2 separate regions of the Homo sapiens genome follow, and region 1 is linked to region 2. The links are contacts of gene promoters, found by promoter capture Hi-C in blood cells and fetal thymus (Javierre and others, 2016). All regions are on one chromosome and are shown on one strand. The core of a region is centred on a gene start or on the middle of the fragment in contact, and the rest is flanking DNA. Distances in the headings are between cores, read along the strand shown. Region 1 overlaps STAT5B (signal transducer and activator of transcription 5B). Region 2 holds the start of ATP6V0A1 (ATPase H+ transporting V0 subunit a1).

Evidence for each region. Contacts are between HindIII fragments. The CHiCAGO score rates a contact against its expected background, and 5 or more counts as called.
Region 1: a fragment that was not itself captured here is called in contact with the fragment with the promoter of ATP6V0A1 in region 2 in 1 of 17 cell types (erythroblasts); the score reaches 5.2 in erythroblasts.

The regions. Positions count from the first base shown.
Region 1 is chr17:42,197,188-42,201,327 of GRCh38, reverse strand. STAT5B (signal transducer and activator of transcription 5B) reads left to right here. Exons shown (of 19, transcript NM_012448.4): 19 at 1-2,151. Among named protein-coding and RNA genes, the nearest start is that of GHDC, 4.8 kb to the right of the region's middle. The HindIII fragment of the contact is 317 bases long and covers 2,396-2,712 here.
Region 2 is chr17:42,456,453-42,460,404 of GRCh38, reverse strand. ATP6V0A1 (ATPase H+ transporting V0 subunit a1) reads right to left here and starts at 1,527. Exons shown (of 22, transcript NM_001130021.3): 1 at 1,442-1,527. RefSeq lists a silencer at 1,458-1,667 and an enhancer at 1,818-1,907. The HindIII fragment of the contact is 8,228 bases long and covers 1-3,664 here.

The DNA of each region.
Region 1 (4,140 bases), core at 1,305-3,804, 260 kb after region 2:
GGAGGAGAAAGCACATGTGCTCCAGTGAGTCTTCGTCACTCTGTCTGCCAAGCAATTGATATATAACCGTGATTGTCTCTGCTTTTCTTCTGAAATGTAGATAACTGCTTTTTGACAAAGAGAGCCTTCCCTCTCCCCCACCCCTGTGTTCTTGGGTAGGAATGGGAAAAGGGGCAACCTACAAAGATTGTTGGGGCAAGGGAAGTCACAAGCTTTCGGATGGGCGGTGGCTTTTCACAAAACATTTAGCTCATCTTATTCTCTCTTTGTCCTCTCTCCCCTCCTGCCCGCCCGCACCCTGGAATTGCCACTCAGTTCCTCTGGGTGTGCACATATGTTTGGAGAAATAGAGGAGAGAAAAGAGGGCCACGTAACTGAGAGCTTACAGTGCCAATGCCGTTTGTGTTCTGGCCAGAGTGGAGTGCGCAGCCCTGACTCCCAGGCGCTGAGATTGTTGCCTGGTTACCCAGGAAGCTGCTGTTCCGGCTGCCCAGCCTTTCTCTGAGCCAGCGGATGCACAGTCCGTGGCCTTCTTCAGGCTTATTGATGATGCTTTTTGCAAATGTTGAATCATGGTTCTGTTTCTAAGTTGGATCTTTTTTGTTTTCTCCTTGCCACCCTAATTTGACATCAAAATTCTCTCTTGTGCATTGGGCCCTGGGTCATTCAAACCCAGGTCACCTCATTCCCCTTCTCTGTTCACACCTAATGTCTTGAAGAGTAGGTAGCAGCAGTGTGGGCTGAACCTAGGCCAGCTTGCTTAGCGGGTCACCCTGCTGTGAAGTCCTGGCAGGTGTTGGTAATGTGTGGAAATGCAGTCAGCAAGTTTGCTGGGGAGTTTGATAAAAGTATAAAACAAAACAAAAAAAGCCTCGGTATAATTTTGTTCCACGACTTCTTCTGTAGCTTTACACCAGAAGGAAGGAATGGGCTACAGCAGGTAGTGGAGGAAGAGGGGGGTGAGCAGGTGTATTAAAATAGCTTACGGGTAAGGCCTAAAAGGTCACCCCTCGGCCCCCTCTCCAAAAGAAGGGCATGGGCACCCCCAGGAGAGGATGGCCCCAAAAACCTTATTTTTATACATGAGAGTAAATAAACATATTTTTTTTACAAAAATAACTTCTGAATTTATCAGTGTTTTGCCGTTAAAAATATTCCTCTATAGTAAATTATTTATTGGAAGATGACTTTTTTAAAGCTGCCGTTTGCCTTGGCTTGGTTTCATACACTGATTTATTTTTCTATGCCAGGCAGTAGAGTCTCTCTGCCTCTGAGGAGCAGGCTACCCGCATCCCACTCAGCCCCTCCCTACCCCTCAAGATTTGATGAAAATTCCAACCATGAGGATGGGTGCATCGGGGAAGGGTGAGAAGGAGAGCCTGCCTGCTCAGGGATCCAGGCTCGTAGAGTCACTCCCTGCCCGTCTCCCAGAGATGCTTCACCAGCACCTGCCTCTGAGACCTCGCTCTCTGTTCCAGCAACCCTGGTTGGGGGGTCAGACTTGATACACTTTCAGGTTGGGAGTGGACCCACCCCAGGGCCTGCTGAGGACAGAGCAGCCAGGCCGTCCTGGCTCACTTTGCAGTTGGCACTGGGTTGGGGAGGAAGAGAGCTGATGAGTGTGGCTTCCCTGAGCTGGGGTTTCCCTGCTTGTCCAGTTGTGAGCTGTCCTCGGTGTTACCGAGGCTGTGCCTAGAGAGTGGAGATTTTTGATGAAAGGTGTGCTCGCTCTCTGCGTTCTATCTTCTCTCTCCTCCTTGTTCCTGCAAACCACAAGATAAAGGTAGTGGTGTGTCTCGACCCCATCAGCCTCTCACCCACTCCCAGACACACACAAGTCCTCAAAAGTTTCAGCTCCGTGTGTGAGATGTGCAGGTTTTTTCTAGGGGGTAGGGGGAGACTAAAATCGAATATAACTTAAAATGAAAGTATACTTTTTATAATTTTTCTTTTTAAAACTTGGTGAAATTATTTCAGATACATATTTTAGTGTCAAGGCAGATTAGTTATTTAGCCACCAAAAAAAAGTATTGTGTACAATTTGGGGCCTCAAATTTGACTCTGCCTCAAAAAAAAGAAATATATCCTATGCAGAGTTACAGTCACAAAGTTGTGTATTTTATGTTACAATAAAGCCTTCCTCTGAAGGGATGGTATTGAGTCCTGTTTTTACTTTTTTCTGTCACATGCCAAGGGAGGGCAGCTTGAACACGGAAAAGTTTCAAGTCATCAGCGTGACCCTGAAAAAGGGAACTGGTTGGGTGGTTGGGAGTTGGCTGCCTCAGAGGGCACGTCATTAGCTCTGATGGCAGATGGGGCCTTTCATACCTTCCTGCTCATATGATGTTTTGAAAATAAGAATGATGGTCTCCTAGCCTCCTGACTCCAGAAAGCTTGTTAGCCAGGATGGTCTCGATCTCCTGACCTCATGATCTGCCCACCTCAGCCTCCCAAAGTGCTGGGATTACAGGCGTGAGCCACTACGCCCGGCTGAAAGCCTGTCCTTAAGATTCAGCACATTTAGAGTACCTGACCCTGAGTTCAGCGTTGTGTGTGGGATGAGAAATGGTGCCTTCCCTGCAGAGGCTCACAGTTGGAGAAAGGCAGCTACCACAACTGATTATGCTAGGATATCGCTTCCTGCTGCAATCAAGGCATCCCAAAGTCATTATGCAAAAGAACATGCAGGAAGGCCACTGAGCAACTCAAGCTTTTTTTTTATTTTATTTTTTTATTTTAATTGAGTAGCTGGGATTACAGGCGCCACCACTCCCGGCTAATTTTTGCATTTTTAGTAGGGACGGGGTTTCACCATGTTGGCCAGGCTGGTCTGGACCTCCTGACCTCAGGTGATCCACCTGCCTTGGCCTCCCAAAATGCTGGGATTACAGGCGTGAACCACCATGCCCAGCCTGGAGCTGGCTCTTAAGGAACAAATAGGGCCGGGCACGGTGGCTCATGCCTGTAATCCCAGCATTTTGGGACGCCAAGGCAGGTGGATCACCTGAGGTCGGGAGTTCGAGACCAGTCTGGCCAACATGATGAAACCCCGTCTCTACTAAAAATACACAAAAATTAGCTGGGCGTGGTGGCACGCGCCTGTAATCCCAGCTACTTGGGAGGCTGAGGCAGGAGAATCGCTTGAACCCGGCAGGCAGAGATTGCAGTGAGCCGAGATCATGCCATTGCATTCCAGCCTGGACAACAGAGCAAGACTCTGTCTCAAATTAAAAAAAAACAAAAAACCCAGCCATTCCACTTGTAGGTATCTACATAAGAACCATGAGAACATATATGTACAGAAACACTTGTGACAAATGTTCATAACAGCATTATGCATAATAGCCAAAGGGCAGAAACAACCCAAATGTCCATCAACTGATGAATAAACAAAATGTATTATGGTATATCTGTACAATGGAATATACGGCAATAAAAAGGAATGAAGTGCTGACACACAGGACATGATGTTGTCACGGATGAACCTTGACAATATCATGCTAGATGAAAGAAGCCAGGCCGGGCACGGTGGCTCATGACTGGGACTCCAGCACTTTGGGAGGCTGAGGCGAGGGATCACTTGAGTGCAGCAGTTCAAGACCAGCTTGGACAACACGGTGAAACCCCATCTCTACAAAAAAATACAAAAATTAGCTGGATGTGGTGGTGCACCCCTGTAGTCCCACCTACTCAGGAGGCTGAGGTGGGAGGATCACTTGAGCTGTGATCATGCTACTGCACTCCAGCCTGGGTGACAGAGCGAGGAAAAAGAAAAGAAGCCAAGTACAAAAGACCGCATATTATATGATGCCATTTATAGGAAATGTCTAGGATAGGCAAATCTATGGAGACAGAAAGTAAATTTGAGGTTGCCTAGAGGCTGGGAAGGAGTTTGGAGGTAATAGTGAAAGGATACAGGGTTTGGGGGTTTTTTTGTTTTGTTTTTTTTTTTGTTTGTTTTTCTTGAGACAGAGTCTCGCTCTGTCACCCAGACTGGAGTGCAGTGGCGCCATCTCGGCTCACTACAACCACTGCCTCCCAGTTTCAAGCGATTCTCCCACCTCAGCCTCCCAAGTAGCTGGGATTATAGGCGCCGGCCACCAGACCCTGCTAATTTTTGTATTTTTAGTAGAGACAGTG
Region 2 (3,952 bases), core at 278-2,777:
CCTTCTCCCTTCTACTGACAATGCGCATTTCTAAAAGCCCAAAGTTCTGGCACTATCCTAAAGCTATGGCTACACTAAAGGGTTTAATCTTCCAGATTCCTCAGAAAACAATATTTCCCCACTTAGGAATTCAAACAAATAACCGTCATCTGGAAAAAGCAACCAGTTTGCATATTAAGCTCAATTTCAAATCAAGCATGACAGGAACACACTGATAATGACAAAGCAGTTTTATCAAGCCACAGAGAATAAGCCTTCCACCTCTGCAGCTTTCTGTTTCTCAACCCTACCTTCAAGATTAATTACATTCTTCCATCTGTCAAATCTCATGAGCCAATAAAGGTTTCGTTTTAGTGCTGTCTTACTGTTGCCGGGTATGAGACAACTGGCGCTATCAGTGGTCCTGAAACTGCAATTATTTATTCTCGATCAGCTAATGTAAGGCACAGCCTGTCCAGTATCCAAACTCAGAAAAATGCACAGTATTTTTAGTGTCATAAGGGCATCTATACTGAGTACTGATAGATGAGTCTGACATCAAAGGAAGATTTACTCTTCTGGAAGGCTGGGAGACATTTTGAGAAATCTGAACGAACAAACCTTTGTGCATGTGATGTTCAAGACAGTAACACAAGCTCAGACATAAGCAAGGACTTCTCAAGAGAATATGCAGGCTGACTTTAAGATTCTGTACATCTGAATCATCCAAATCAGCTGTTACCGGCACCACCCTTAAACAAAGAGAGATTCTACAACCTCTAAACACATAAAATTAGGCCTGGTCAGCATAGTTCAGGAGCTGTGGATAATGATAAGCCTCCAACGAGTCGCCTCCGTCCTCCTGCTCTTTAATGATTATAGGTCTCCCAAGAATATCTCTATAGCAATGGAGGCTAACAGAAAACTAATTAGGCCAAAGTAGTTCTGGACGATCACAAAACAAAATATGAAGAAACAGCAATTCTGCAAAAGATGAGTCCAACTACAGCGCCCCCGCGCCCTGCCTAGAAGAATCTCACTCCTGTCATCCGGTCCTCGCCTCCTCCCACGGTATTCACCTGCTTCATTTCCTGTCTACCCAATGAGCAGGAATTCTCTGGACTCAGGCTCATCTACCTTGAGATGGGAAAAAAGGAGAGGAAAACCCCCAAACTGAGAAACCCTTTAAGAAGCCCCCTAAATTCTTCTGCCTATCCAATAACCTCCGGTTCCTCCGCCTACCCCTTAAAGCAGGGAAGAGATGCGGGGCTTCCAAAGGGCAGTGAGCCTCCGGTTCCTCAGGGCAGAGGAGGGGTGCCCAAGGAGGGGGCGAACCCCCATTTTATCTCGAAGACGTCAGATCCCCGCTAATTCCTCTGACAATCAAGGGGGCTCTTAGAAGGATTTCCTACGTCCATCGAGGGCCGCTCCCTGTTGCGCTAAACCTACAGCCCCCACTCACCTCCAAACTCCGCCACAGCAACCGCCACAGAAACCACCGCAGCCAAACCCGCACCCTCCGCGGCTCCAGGAGCAGCGCTTCGACGTGCTTGCGTCCGTAAAGCCCCGCCCCTGCGCCGCCGCCGGCCCCCGCCCCCGCAATGACCTCATTGCAGTTGGCCAATGGGGCGCAGCCTCGCCCGGGCTGCAGCAGTGCGGAGTCACGGGGGTCGCAGGCGAGACCCAGCGTGCTGACGCCATGTTGGCCCCTGTGCTGTATCTCCACGCTGGGGAGGGTTAGCGGGTGGGGCTGGAGGTGCAGGTGCTCGAGGCCTTAAGTTCCTGAGCCTCCCTGAATCCTTTTTCTTACCCCTTATACTGGGGTAGGTTGTCTTTTCTCTTTCTTTTTTTTTTTTTGAAGTCTCATTCTGTTGCTCAAGCAGGAGTGCAGTGGCGTGATCTCGGCCCACTGCAACCTCCACCTCCCGGGTTCAAGCGATTCTCCTGCCTCAGCCTCCCAAGTAGCTGGGACTACAGGCACGCACCACCATGCCCGGCTAATTTTTGTATTTTTTTTTTTTTTAAGTAGAGACGGGGTTTCACTATGTTGGCCAGGCTGAGTCTCGAATTCTGACCTCGTGATCCACCCGCCTCGGCCTCCCAAAGTGTTGGGATTACAAGCGTGAGCCACCACGCCCGGCCTTTTTTTTTTTTTTTTTTTTTTTTTTTTAGATGGTCTGTTTCCCAGGCGGGAATGCAGTGGCGCGTTCTCGGCTCACTGCAGCCTCCGCCTCCCGGGTTCAGGGGATTCTCCTGCCTCAGCCTCCCTAGTAGCTGAGATTACAGGCACGCACCACGCCACCCGGCTATTTTTGTATTTTTTGTAGAGATGGGGTTTCGCCATGTTGCCCAGACTGGTCCTGGCCTCCACCCGCCTCGGCCTCCCAAAGTGCTGGGATTACAGGTGTGAGCCACCGCGCCCGGCCCTCTCTTTATTTTCATATCCAAAGAATTAATTCACACATACGCACCCAAATAATTAATGTCTTCTCTCTTTATTTTCATATCCAAAGAATTCACACACACACTCAAATAATTAATACGCAGACACATATACCACCCTTTCTCTTTTCCCTTATTTTACAGATGAGAACATTTGAGCCCCAGACTGGGGAGCGGCTAGCTTTAGATCCTGTAGTAGAGTCTTTAACGGGGTCTCATTTGCATAAGTATGGAAAACCTCTCTTTAAATGGTACATGGTTCATGCCTTCCAGCAACTTCCCCGGGTCTATTTTTCTCTGTTTAACAGGAAAAACCTCATCAGACCATATGTTGTGAAAGTACATTTCAGTCTTGTTTGGTAGATTCATGTGGGCTCAATTGACCACTTAGGAGTTTTCAATTCCTCAAATTTATTTTAAAAACATTTTTTATGGCTTGTACTCAACTTGTAAATTAAATATTGAAAAACATTTTTTAAACGCAAAAGTGATGTCTATTATTTTTTAAATGCCATTATCAAATATTGATATTGATTCCCTTTTCTTGCCCTTTTAAAGAAGAGTAGGGATCTCAAGTCGTTTGTGATAACCAGAATTGTATCAGGAAAAACTCAGAAAACCGGTTATTCTGTCTTCCTGGGTGGTGGAACCCTGTTGAAATTCAAGTGTAATGAGGGAGATATTCCAGATAAAAACTTGTTGCTGATAATTTTGTCAACCTGACAAAAACATCATCAAACCTGCTTTACCAGCCTAAACAAAATAAGGGGACAAAAATGGACGTTTTATTTGAATTTATTGTCTCATATTGTGAGTGAAGATATAACCTGACTTCAATACAACCTTCTTAAGACACAGAGTCTTGGAGAGACCCATACCCTCCTTCTCCCTGCTCCCTAGCTCTCAACCCTTCTGGCAAGACAGATCGGGACCCACATTTAAAAGCCTGCCAAGTTAGAGAAAACTGTTACACAATATCATTTCCTTCCTCTGAGACTTAAAAAAAAATTAACCTCAGTCAGCTGCTTGCTAACCACAAATTTTTCATACTCCACTTTTAAGACAGCCTTTCCTGTGGACTTACTTCAATTCCCTTGAACTCTTTTCACGGCTTCTTTGAAAGAATATTGTTTCAGAACTCCTTTTCTGTTTGCTTCCATCTCCTGCCATCAATCTTTCCTCAGTGTTCTATTTATTTTCCCTCCATGCTGTCTTCCTTGATGGTCTTGAGTGTTGTCAAGCTTAAACGTTTATGTGTAGGACTCTTATCTGTTTTTCCACCTGACTTCCTTCTTCAAGACTCAGAAATGGAATTTCATACTGCCTGCTTGATAGTGCCTTTTAGGCAGCAGATGCTTGCTGAGGGCCTACTGTGTGCCAGAGAGGGGTACTAGGTGCTGGGGATAGAAAATGAAACAGACATGCTTCTTATCCTTGGAGAGCTCATGGTTCAGTGAGAAAGAAACTTCCCAAATGGCAAGAGAGAGAGGAGTGCAGTGATTAATACTTACTATGTGCCAGGCACTTTTCT